Regions from separate parts of the Homo sapiens genome. Here regions 2 and 3 are each linked to region 1. The links are contacts of gene promoters, found by promoter capture Hi-C in blood cells and fetal thymus (Javierre and others, 2016). All regions are on one chromosome and are shown on one strand. Each heading gives the region's core, a stretch centred on a gene start or on the middle of the fragment in contact. The rest is flanking DNA. Distances are from core to core; before and after follow the strand shown.

Region 1 (4,110 bases), core at 753-3,252:
AGAATGCCACACCAAGCAGACGCTGTGTTAGAGGGGCACCTGAGGTGACATGTTTGACAGATCACATAACTGAATAACTGCATTTTCTGAAGGAAAATCAACGAAGTGCTTTGAGGCCAAGTAGATGGGATTCTTGAGGATTCCATGAATAGCAAATAGTAGTATCCCCCTCAGAGGCTCTTGGGTGGGGGCATTAAATGTGTTAATACATGTGTTTGCTGCAGGTATAGCCAGAATATGTGAAAGCAGCTACAGGGAATAGAGTGTAGCAAACTCCTAATCATCCCTCAAAACCCTGCCCTGGTGTCCTCTCCCTTGTAAACTTTCCTTGAACAAGGCAGAACCAGCTACATCAGCACCATACCATCCCTCCATCACTACAGATATCACTCTGTACTATAATTATCCATTTATTTTTCTAGGCCTTGCACTCCCTAAGGCCAGGATTCTGACTCTTTCCCTGAGTGCTGTTTACCTGAACTGAACCGGCATGAACCACCACGCCCGGCCATCTTGTCACTTTCTAAAATGCATTGCTCTTCGTGGCAGATGCTCCATAAGCCAGAGCTCTAAGCCGCAGCATTGAGCCGCAGCATTGAGCTGAAGCCTGAAGGGAAGATGGCTTTGATATGTTAAAACTCATTCCAGTTTACTCCTATTTTTCATTCATTCATCCACACATTCACTCAACAAAGATCCTTGAGCTCTGATATCCATGTCTTTTTTGTGGCTCTTAGTTTATCTTTGACAAAGTTAATATATTATGCTGAATTTAACTTGGGAAAGACAAGAAGGAAATGAGTGGACAGTGGTAGCAAAGTGTTGGGACGGTGAGATCAAGGGTGACTTTTTTTCCCTTTGCTTCTCAACTTCTCCCTAATGTAGTTGTTATTTTACTTTTATGATGGAAAAATGCATATGTATGGGAATACTGTATTTCAGGCATTATAAGGAATGAAATTATAGGCCGGGCATGGTGGCTAACCCTTGTAATCCTAGCACTTTGAGAGGCTGAAGTGGGCAGATCACTTGAGCTTCAGAGTTCGAGACCAGCATGGACAACATGGTGAAACCCAGTCTCTACCAAAAACACAAAAATATTAGCTGGGTGTGGTGGTGCATGCCTGTAGTCCCAGCTACTCAGGAGGCTGAGGTGGGAGGATCGCTTGAGCCTGGGAGGCAGAAGTTGCAATGAGCAGAGATCGTGCCACTCCGCTCCAGTCTTGGTGACAGAATGAGACTCCATCTCAAAAATAAATAAATAAATAAAATAAATGAAATGAAATTATAAGAAATTACCACTTTTTCATGTAAGAAGTGATCATTTCCATTATAAGGGAAGGAATTTAATCCTACCTGCCATTCCACCAAAGCTTACCTAGTGCTAAAGGATGAGGTGTTAGTAAGACCAACATCTCAGAGGCCTCTCTGTGCCAATAGCCTTCCTTCCTTTCCCTTCCAAAAACCTCAAGTGACTAGTTCAGAGGCCTGTCTGGAATAATGGCATCATCTAATATCACTGGCCTTCTGGAACCTGGGCATTTTCCAGTGTGTTCCATACTGTCAATATTCCCCCAGCTTCCTGGACTCCTGTCACAAGCTGGAAAAGTGAGAGGATGGACAGGGATTAACCAGAGAGCTCCCTGCTGAGGAAAAAATCTCCCAGATGCTGAAAGTGAGGCCATGTGGCTTGGCCAAATAAAACCTGGCTCCGTGGTGCCTCTATCTTAGCAGCCACCCTGCTGATGAACTGCCACCTTGGACTTGGGACCAGAAAGAGGTGGGTTGGGTGAAGAGGCACCACACAGAGTGATGTAACAGCAAGATCAGGTCACCCACAGGCCCTGGCAGTCACAGTCATAAATTAGCTAACTGTACACAAGCTGGGGACACTCCCTTTGGAAACCAAAAAAAAAAAAAAAAAAAAGAGACCTTTATGCAAAAACAACTCTCTGGATGGCATGGGGTGAGTATAAATACTTCTTGGCTGCCAGTGTGTTCATAACTTTGTAGCGAGTCGAAAACTGAGGCTCCGGCCGCAGAGAACTCAGCCTCATTCCTGCTTTAAAATCTCTCGGCCACCTTTGATGAGGGGACTGGGCAGTTCTAGACAGTCCCGAAGTTCTCAAGGCACAGGTCTCTTCCTGGTTTGACTGTCCTTACCCCGGGGAGGCAGTGCAGCCAGCTGCAAGGTGAGTTGCCTTCATTTCTGGGGAAGCGGCTGTTTTGAGAGGGTTTTGTTTCTTCCTCTTTGAGAAGGCTCAGAAAATTGTGGGAATTTTCTGCCTACAGAGAGAAGGTGTTGGAAAGTCTAGGTAAAAAAATGCCGACATGAGGTTTGGTCATTTGAACATGGCATCTTGGTCAGATTTCTTTTCTGCAAATATTAGCTGTGGTTGTTACATGACAAGGAAAAACTTTCTGAAAAGTTCAAAATGGGAGTTTGTATCTGCTAAGAATTTTTTTTAACAGAGATTATCTTATCAGTCCTTATAACATGTAACCTCCCCACAAATCCTGGTAAGATGGATATATTAAACCCATTTTATGGATGAATAAATGAGTTTCAGTTAAATAACTTGATCCAGGACACATAACTGGTAGAGCTAGGATTCCAGGATTTGAACCCAGGTCTATGGGGCTATAAGTTCTTTTCTTTCTTTCCCTCTTTCCTTCCTTTCCTTCCTGTCCTTTCCTCCCTTCCCCTCCCTTCCCTTCCCTTTCTTTCTTTTTTTTTTTTGGAAACAGCCTTGACTGCCCAGCCTCAAGCAATCCTTCTGCCTCAGCCTCCCGAGTAGCTGGGACTACAGGCACAAGACACCATGCCTGCCTGGCTAATTTTTCAATTTTTTGTAGTCAAGGTCTCCCTATGTTGCCCAGGCTGAACTCGAACTCTTGGACTCAAGCGATCCTCCTGCCTCGGTCTCCCGAAATGCTGGGATTACAGGCGTGAGCCACTGCACTTGGCCTAAAATTCTTACATGGACTATATTCACTACACTGTCTTCTAAAGACAGAGTTTTTGCCTCTTTGATCTTCCTCTTGTCTGTTTCAAAGGAGATGATCTCAGATTTCGAGGGATGAGTGCATTTTTCACAAATATTTCCTCCCCACATAATAAAAGAGGAGCAAGTAATAATGCTGAGTTAGAACAACAACTGCAAAATCTTTAAAAGAAAGGTAGCTACAGCTTGAGTGCTTTCCCCAGTAATAGACCTAAAACTACAGTTGATAATGAGAGCTGCTGGGAAGTGTCTTTCAGGGTCAGGCAAAGGCACCCCTGTTTCAACGACCTCCGGGCTCTTCCTCACCCTGCCTGTGGCCAGTGATGAAGCCTGGCTGGGTCTGGTGGGCCAGCAGGTCCCGCTAAGGAGGCTCATGGTGCATACAGTTTGTCCTTGTTAAGTGGCGATGGGGATGGGGGGGTTCATTGTTTTTCCTTAAGATTATTAGGTGGCTTTACAGAATTGAAGTCTGTGTCCGAAGGCTCCCCATTCCAACCCCGAAATAGAGACAGAGGTTGCAAAGCATTGATGAAGGGGCTCATGCTGGCGTTCATATCGATTCCCCAGTGAGCCAACCCCACTGAGAAGCCCTGTTCTGTAAACTCTTCTTCAACCTTCCCTCACCTCTGCTTCCCTTCTTCAGCCCCACAGTGAAGAACATCTGAGCTCAAATCCAGATAAGTGACATAAGTGACCTGCTTTGTAAAGCCATAGAGATGGCCTGTCCTTGGAAATTTCTGTTCAAGACCAAATTCCACCAGTATGCAATGAATGGGGAAAAAGACATCAACAACAATGTGGAGAAAGCCCCCTGTGCCACCTCCAGGTGAGTTTTCCCTGGGGGAACCTCCTGCTTGTCTCCTTGGGCACCCATGCCCTGTCGGCACCGATGACTCAGAATTCCTCTCTCTGCTCCTCCTCTCTCACCTGAGGTCTGATCTCCTCATTGCTTCTTGAAAGTCCCTGTTGGAATTCAATGCAGCCGCTGATTATTGGGCACCTCGCTGTGCCTGACGGTATGTGAAGAAGGAAGGGACATGGTGCGGGGCTGGCCCTGAAGAAGCTTGGAATCTTTGGGGAAGAATATGGGAAGGAGCTTGGCCTG
Region 2 (4,110 bases), core at 612-3,111, 560 kb before region 1:
GCCGCCCGGCCGCGGGTCGGGCTCTGTGTCAGCAGCCGGGCGGGCGCTCGGGCGGGACATGGCAGCCTGTACAGCCCGGCGGGCCCTGGCCGTGGGCAGCCGCTGGTGGTCCCGGTCGCTGACTGGGGCCCGGTGGCCAAGGCCGCTCTGTGCGGCGGCCGGAGCTGGAGCCTTCTCGCCAGCGTCGACCACGACGACGCGGAGGCACCTCTCGTCCCGGTGAGGGACGGAGCCAGGGGGCGCGAGGAACTGGGCCTGGAGCCCAGAGAGCGTGTTCCTAGCCAGTGCGGAGGCCAGGGGCCCGGGCCTGCTGAGGGTGACTGGAGTTTGACCCGGGAGAGGGTCCCGAGCAGGGAGCCGACCTGCGCTGTCTGGGACATGTGCCAGGAGCAGGGAAGCCAGCGCGGCCCAGAGCCCTGGTTGTACAGGGCTGGCCCTGGGGGGGAACAGGTTACCCTCCCCAAGTGAATCCTACTTCCCCGGCTGGGGTCCCCAGCACCGATGTCAGAGGGAAGCTTTTTAATTCAGCCCTAGGGCATTGGCTTGAACCCTCAGCCTTTGGATTTGGTGAAGGTCTGCCTCAGAAAGATGCTAGAGGTGGGAAACGAGACTCTTGGGTGTGGACCCTCGTAGGCCCCAGGTTTCCAAGTGACTTTGGGGAGATCGATTTTCTATCTGTGACTTGGGGAAGGGGGTTTGAGGCCATGGGGATGGTGTGGAAACTGTTTCCACGGATGGGACAGGCGGATCAAATGGGCTGGTGGATCAGTGGGAGGAAGCATAAAGTTCACATCTTCAAAACAGTAAAAACAGCCTTTATTTGAAGGGCCCCTAGAAAGAGCAGCCCTGTTCAGAGTGGTGACTGACATTTTAGTGGCTGATATTAGACACTGAACATTGGGGAGAGATGATAGCTATTTGCAATTTAAGACCCCTGTGAGAATATGAACAAAAACGGTATTGAGAGAGCGATGTGCCGTAGGAAATCTAGAGATGTTTAAGCTTTTCAAGGGCAATGTAAGGGCTACAGGTTAGAGGGGGAGATGGACATGGAATTATAATACAGGACAAATATTTTTTGAGCACCTCTTGTACACTAGGCTCTGAGGGGGCAGTACCAGCTAATCAGACTCAGGCATTGCTCCCAGGGAATTTACAGTATTTAATAAAGATAAGACATGGACACAACTGAAATGTAAAGGGAGCAGGATATTGTTTGATGACTTGTGATATAGAAAATGTAAGAAAAGAAGAAAAAAAGATACTCCCCTTCTAAAAAAATTGAAAAAGTGAGCAAGACAGTTAAAGTGCTGTGGGAGGTCAGGAGGGTGGGTTAGGGAAGAAACAAGGGCAGGGGTACATTTGAGCAGAGTGTGAGGGCATGATATGAAGAATGCCCAGTGAAGAGAGAAGACAGTAGTATGGGAGCGGTCACATCTAACACTGGGAGACTGTGGAGGTTTTCACCAAGGAGGAGGAAAGCCTTTCCTGCTCCAGCTGGTCCCACTACCCCAAACCCTTCTCTGCTGTCATCGCCCTGGCCCCTCAGTATCCTAGGAGCTTTTTCTTATGGATAACTACCATTACCTTCTCAGCTTTTCTGTTGCTTGTTCTTTTCCTTCCTACTCAGAAACCGACCAGAGGGCAAAGTGTTGGAGACAGTTGGTGTGTTTGAGGTGCCAAAACAGAATGGAAAATATGAGACCGGGCAGGTGAGTATTGGGCTGGGTCATCTTTCATTTTCATAGAGTGCTCTGCTTCTGAAAAAAGTCAGATTAGGTCACAGGCCTGCATGGTATGGTGTTCCATTCATTCCACCTTGATGTTTGGTGCCATTCCAGAATCAAATTTGTATTCATTTTTTATTTTATTTATTTATTTTATTTATTTATTTTTTGTGAGACGGAGTTTCAGTCTTGTTGCCCAGGCTGGAGTGCAATGGCATGGTCTCGGCTCACTGCAAGCTCCACCTCCTGGGTTTAAGCAGTTCTCCTACCTCAGCCTCCCTAGTAGCTGGGATTACAAGCATGCGCCACCACACTTGGCTAATTTTGTACTTTTAGTGGAGATGCGGTTTCTCCATGTTGGTCAGGCTGGTCTCGAGCTCCCGACCTCAGGTGATCCACCTGCCTTGGCCTCCCAAAGTCCTGGGATTACTGGCGTGAGCCACCGCACCCAGCCCAGAATCAAATTTTTATAGATAGGGTTTCTGTTCTCCTGGATTTGAATGCACTTAATGTGTCAGTGGGTTCTCTTTCCAAGTTAATGTGGACAGGGATGGTGTGGACTATAGTGAGGTTTAGCCAAGTTGCTGAAGATTTCTCTAACATAGTGGATGGTGGGAAGCCGTGGAGGGAGCTTTCAGAAAAGTATACCTTTGATGCTTTGCCGTAATAAAATTGACTTCAGTGTGGTAAACTCTGGATGTGTGGTTCTTTTTCTATATCAGCTTTGTTCTGGGTCCACTGGGATAGATTTAGGCCCTTCTAGGATATTGTAGGTAAGGAAGACTTTTTGTTTGTTCAACATTTTATTTTTCTGTGTGCCTACAATGGACTAGGCATTGTGCATTAGGGTTAAATCAGAAAGCAAAGTAGACATGATTCCTGCTATTGTGGAGTTTCTAGTCTAGAAAAGAACGATTTGCAAATGGCCAATAGCTGTACATTGTGCTAAGTGGAAGGGAGGTCAGGGAAGGCTTCCTGGAGGCCTAAGCTTTTACCTAAAGGATGAGTAGAGTCAGCCAGGTAAAGAAGAAATAAGAGTGTTCCAGCATTGGTCTGGTTGATCACAGACTTCAAGGGAAGAGGTAGCAAGACCTTGTGCTGGAGTTGCCTCCACCTGTGTTGCTTTGTGGTCTGGGGCCCACCTGGATGGATTTGCTGGACTGCAGACTCACTGAGGCCCCTCTTTCCTTCCAGCTTTTCCTTCATAGCATTTTTGGCTACCGAGGTGTCGTCCTGTTTCCCTGGCAGGCCAGACTGTATGACCGGGATGTGGCTTCTGCAGCTCCAGAAAAGTAAGTTTCCCTGTGGTTGTGCCTCACAGTATCCTCAGGAGGAGATGGCAGACATATGTAATTGGGGTACTAGGGGTGAAGACAGCGTCCTCCTAGGCCTTGGAAACATCCCCAGAGTACTTCTCTGGGACTAAGACCCATGGAGACAAAAGTGCTGAGTGCCAGGGATAGTCTAAGTCAGAGAGTCCCTTTAGGCCTCCTCAGAATGCTTTCCTAAGCCATTCCTAATTTTCATTATGAGTATCCCAGAGGGCATTTGGGGGACAAGTCTTCTTGATTTCTTGATGTTCAGCTGGAGTCTTTCCCTCAATCTCACATCATCCCTAGAATACATTAAAACAGAAAAGGTTCAGCCCCATTAAGTGATCACAGACAGTCCCTGGGATATAAGAAGACAAGAGTACTCTGGGCCCTGGGGACTGAGGTGGCAATTTGATTTTCTCAACATGGCCCCCTTCTTTTAAGAGGTATCCACACGGTCAGATGATGGCTCCATACCATGGTCTTCCATGCTCTATTATTTGCCCCAACTGAGGAGCAGCTGAGCTGAGGTGCTGCAGAGCAGGTGTCCAGCTGGTGCTAAAGCCCCTTTAGATCAGAGACCAGCCTGTTTAGGTGAGGAGGAGTAGGGAGCTGAGTCAGCCACAGCTTCCATTTCTCCTGGGGTGATCTTGGCCTCCTTCTCCCACCCCATAGAGCAGAGAACCCTGCTGGCCATGGCTCCAAGGAGGTGAAAGGCAAAACTCACACTTACTATCAGGTGCTGATTGATGCTCGTGACTGCCCACATATAGTAAGTAAGCAAGATGGCTGGGCTTGGGGGTCCTCTCCATGGAAAGTCCTGCATCCCAATGGGGACAAAGGGAGGGAAGGGGGTCAAACAGAGCCCAGGTCAGTCTTGGTCCCCAAGGCCTTGGACTGCACAGTGGCCAACAAAGCCCTGATTCACGTCTTTTTTTTTTTTTTTGATATGGAGTCTCACTCTGTCGCCAGGCTGGAGTGCAGTGGTGAGATCTCAGCTCACTGCAACCTCTGCCTCCCGGGTTCAAGTGATTCTCCTGCCTCAGCCACCCGAGTAGCTGGGATTACAG
Region 3 (4,110 bases), core at 762-3,261, 530 kb before region 1:
AGCTAGTCCAGAGGCAGCGCTTGTGTCCTGAGGCTGCCCTTTTGTGAACAACAGTGCTTCCTGTCACTCCTGGGGAAGCAGGGTTGGGGTCTGTCTGGAGAATGAGCCCAGCAAGGGCCTAGTGCTTTCATAGCCGGAGGTCATAGCGGCTGGCTGGCTCAGTGGGGATGCAAGGTCCGAGTATGCCCTGGTCCAGCTGGCCACCCTTCTCTAGGTTCAGACCAAGGGTAGGAGACAGGCCAACAGGCACCAAAGTGTTTAAGCGACAGGGTCTTGCTATGTTCCCCAGGCTGGAATGCAGTGGCAGTTCACAGGCATGATCACACATCCTCTAACTCCTGGGTTCAAGTGATCCTCCCACCTCAGCCCCCTGAGTAGCTGGGACTACAGTTGCTCTCCACCACGCCTGGCCCACACCGAACTATTTTAACACAAATTAGAAGGGGCAGTCCGCTCTGCCCTCTCACTGCCTTAGCACTCTACCGAAGGGGAGTGATGATACTAAGGAAATATTTTATTTTTTGTTCTTTTCCTAAAAGAAATTGGCCAGTTTCAGAAAATAGTTGGTGGTTTAATTGAGCTTGTTGATCAACTTGCAAAAGAAGCAGAAAATGAAAAGATGAAGGTAAGATCAGCATGTCTTCCGCCTACATCTTGGCCTGGGACCCTAGTTCACTACCCTCTCATCCCTCTTCCCTCTTGATTTATTTAGAGGGGTAGAGGGCTGGGTGGGTGAATTTTTATTTAAGATTTTAATAACTTCTGGTCCACTTAACCTACTGAACTTTTGCCAATCTTTATTTCCTTTAATCTTTATTTTTTTTTTTTTTTTGAGACAGAGTCTTGCTGTGTCACCCAGGCTGGAGTGCACTGGTGCAATCTCGGCTCACTGCAAGCTCTGCCTCTCAGATTCAAGCGATTCTCCCACCTCACCCTCCCGAGTAGGTGGGACTACAGGTGTGTGCCACCACACCCAGCTGAGGTTTTTGTATTTTTTTTTTTTTTTTTGAGACGGAGTTTTCTCTCGTTGCCCAGGCTGGAGTGCAATGGTGCGATCTTGGCTCACTGCAACCTCCGCCTCCTGGGTTCAAGCGATTCTCCTGCCTCAGCCTCCCGAGTAGCTGGGATTACAGGCATGTGCCACCATGCCTGGCTAATTTTGTATTTTTAGTAGAGACAGGGTTTCTCCATGTTGGTCAGGCTGGTCTCAAACTCCCAACCTTAGGTGATCCGCCCGCCTCAGCCTCCCAAAGTGCTGGGATTAAGGCGTGAGTGACTGCGCCCGGCCATTTTTTTGTATTTTTAGTAAAGATGGGGTTTCACCATGTTGGCCAGGCTGGTTGCAAACTCCTGGCCTCAAGTGAACTGCCTACCTTGGCCTCCCAAAGTGCTGGGATTGCAGGTGTGAGCCACCACACCTGGCCTCGTTTCATCTTCATATCAGCACTGATGTAGATGGTCTTATCCTCATTTTATAAATGAAGAAATGAAGGCTTACATAGTATGATTGGTGAAAGGCACAAGGCTGAATGGCACCACCAAATGTGCTATTGTGCCTGTGTCCCTGGCTCTAGGAATACTCCTAGACCTGCCTCAAAGCTGCCGTCTAGTTCTTGAGGCACTTTGTGATCAGTAGGTTAATCCTTCTGACTTAACCCAAAAGCTTTGGGGCTCCACTTTCTTTTCCTCTCTGAAGACTGACACAGCTCCCAGATAACCCCTCCCCACTTTGAGGACTTGATGCTGTAGATGGTTTTAATGAAGCCATGGCCTTCTCTGGCAATACTGTAGGCCATCGGTGCTCGGAACTTGCTCAAATCTATAGCAAAGCAGAGAGAAGCTCAACAGCAGCAACTTCAAGCCCTAATAGCAGAAAAGAAAATGCAGCTAGAAAGGTAAGAAGTCATGATGTAAAGCAAGTTCTTTACACAGCTGAATTTCCACTCTTCCTTCTGGAATGATCACTTCTTGTCCTTATTCTTCATCATTGTTTTCCCAGGAATAGCATCTCACTTGTCATCCTGATTTGAAGATTTTAAAAAATAAAATTACATTTGATGGGAAGGAAATAGAAAACTTGTTAATATCAAACCACCTCTAGTAGTTTGAGCATGAAAGGGTCCACGAAGTTGGCTGGCTCTCTGAAAGAAGACTTTCCTAGGGCTGGAGATTTCTCATGGGTGGCTCTGGGTAGGGCTTTGCCTCTTTCTTTCTTCATTCTGAACTCACACCATTTCTTGAAATCATTTAAACCTCTATATCCTTCTCTAGAAGAATTAGGTCTGTGGTTTACTTCATCTTTTTTTCAGGGCCTCTAACAATTTTGTTTTTCAGGTATCGGGTTGAATATGAAGCTTTGTGTAAAGTAGAAGCAGAACAAAATGAATTTATTGACCAATTTATTTTTCAGAAATGAACTGAAAATTTCGCTTTTATAGTAGGAAGGCAAAACAAAAAAAAGCCTCTCAAAACCAAAAAAACCTCTGTAGCATTCCAGCGGCTTGACCAATGACCTATGTCACAAGAGGTGGCGTGTAAGGAATGCAGCCCCCTGAAGACAGCACTACAAGTCTGGGGGAGCCAGTTTTAACATCAGTGCACAGCTGCTGCTGGTGGCCCTGCAGTGTACGTTCTCACCTCTTATGCTTAGTTGGAACTAAGCAGTTTGTAAACTTTCATCCTTTTTTTTGTAAATTCACAAAGCTTTGGAAGGAGAAGCAATAAATTTTTGTTTTCAAATGGCTTGATGTACCTTTTTTCCTGTTGCTCTTGAAATATGTTTAACTCCTCATGAGAGAACCCTGGATTCTCTATCCCCTAGTCCACAAAACAAACCAGGCAGTGGTCAGCAGCTACCTTTATTTGGATCACACACGTGAGTCAGACAGTACCACTAATCGGGCCAATATGGCTTGTGAGCAAAATGGGTGAAAATAGAGGGAACTGACTGGGACCTGTTGTCTAACATCATTTTAAGGTTGAACTTGAGCAAAGACTTAGAGAAAGCTGATGGAATGCCAAGCATCAACGTGAAGAGACCCTCTATGCACACAGTGGATATGTTATGCCTGGCTGTAGCCACCTTCTCTTCTGAAAACAAGATGGGAATGACGGAACTGTATTAAAAGATTAAGTTATCCACTAGGGAGCATACTAGCACACTTCCAGATCAGCCTTGAGATGCTAGACTTCAGATACAGGGACTTGTGTCAGGTGGCCTCTAGAAATGTGGAAGACTAAGATTTAGAAATAAACTAATTTAAAAGCAAACAAACAAAAAAAACTTTCGCCTAGGATGATCTGTTTACAACAGAAACAAAAACATTTTCCAGTTTAATCCATTTGACTGAAAGTCATTGTTGGGCTGACCCTTAAGGAAAACTTAAGTTTAAACTTCCTTTGCATAGTATGTTTTCTCTTTTTTCCTTGGGTTAGAGGTGGGAACAAGAAAACATTGATATAGTTTTGAATTAACATTAAAGAGGCAAAATTTCACATTTAAAATGGCCCAAAATATCCCACTATTCATTTTGCTGACAGGTGATACACTCTTGAGAATCAGGAGTGGAGGGTTTAGTCATAAGCATATATGCTGTGGGTCAGGTGACTCATGAACATGTCAAACAGGCCATGTTCTTTAGCAGTTTCTGGTCTGGTCCTGCTTTTAGTAATCTTGCGGTGGAACTCAGGCACACAGTTATTTGGTACCACTTCCTTATAACCTAGCCCACACCCCTTTGCCCACCCTCAAGCCGATCGGTCTGTTCATCCCAGTGCCCTTAGAAGGTGAAGGTTTGGGCTGGGCCCAGTGGTTCACGTCTGTAATCCCAGCACTTAGGGAGACTGAGGTGGGCAGATCACTTGAGCCTAGGCGTTCGAGACCAACCTGGGCAACATGGCAAAACCCTGTCTCCACACACACAAAAAAAACAAAACAAATTAGCCATACGTGTTGGTACACACCTGTAGTTCTAGCTACTTGGGAGGCTAAGGAAGATGGCTTGAGCCCAGGAGGCGGAGGTTGCAGTGAGCCGAGATCATGCCACTGCCCTTTACTCCAGCCTGGGCAACAGAGTGAGACTGTCTTAAAAAAAAAAAAAAAATGGAAGA

The links. Contacts are between HindIII fragments. The CHiCAGO score rates a contact against its expected background, and 5 or more counts as called.
Region 2: a fragment that was not itself captured here is called in contact with the fragment with the promoter of NOS2 in region 1 in 1 of 17 cell types (erythroblasts); the score reaches 5.7 in erythroblasts.
Region 3: a contact is called between a fragment that was not itself captured here and the fragment with the promoter of NOS2 in region 1, in 1 of 17 cell types (endothelial precursors). The highest score is 5.9, in endothelial precursors.

Annotation. Positions count from the first base shown.
Region 1 is chr17:27,798,421-27,802,530 of GRCh38, reverse strand. NOS2 (nitric oxide synthase 2) reads left to right here and starts at 2,002. Exons shown (of 27, transcript NM_000625.4): 1 at 2,002-2,192; 2 at 3,649-3,831. The coding sequence starts at 3,722. RefSeq lists a cis regulatory region at 1,465-1,487, an enhancer at 1,800-1,828 and promoters at 1-2,038, 1,797-2,089, 972-2,089, 1-2,169. The HindIII fragment of the contact is 2,695 bases long and covers 1,376-4,070 here.
Region 2 is chr17:28,353,397-28,357,506 of GRCh38, reverse strand. It overlaps POLDIP2 (DNA polymerase delta interacting protein 2), which reads left to right. Exons shown (of 11, transcript NM_015584.5): 1 at 1-219; 2 at 1,631-1,712; 3 at 2,922-3,019; 4 at 3,716-3,812. The coding sequence starts at 59. Among named protein-coding and RNA genes, the nearest start is that of POLDIP2, 2.1 kb to the left of the region's middle. RefSeq lists a silencer at 1-282 and an enhancer at 1-580. The HindIII fragment of the contact is 1,713 bases long and covers 1,005-2,717 here.
Region 3 is chr17:28,326,958-28,331,067 of GRCh38, reverse strand. It overlaps TMEM97 (transmembrane protein 97), which reads right to left. Exons shown (of 3, transcript NM_014573.3): 3 at 2,383-4,110. IFT20 (intraflagellar transport 20) reads left to right here. Exons shown (of 5, transcript NM_001267776.2): 3 at 540-625; 4 at 1,792-1,895; 5 at 2,335-2,742. The coding sequence ends at 2,416. Among named protein-coding and RNA genes, the nearest start is that of IFT20, 6.5 kb to the left of the region's middle. RefSeq lists an enhancer at 3,850-3,899. The HindIII fragment of the contact is 691 bases long and covers 1,666-2,356 here.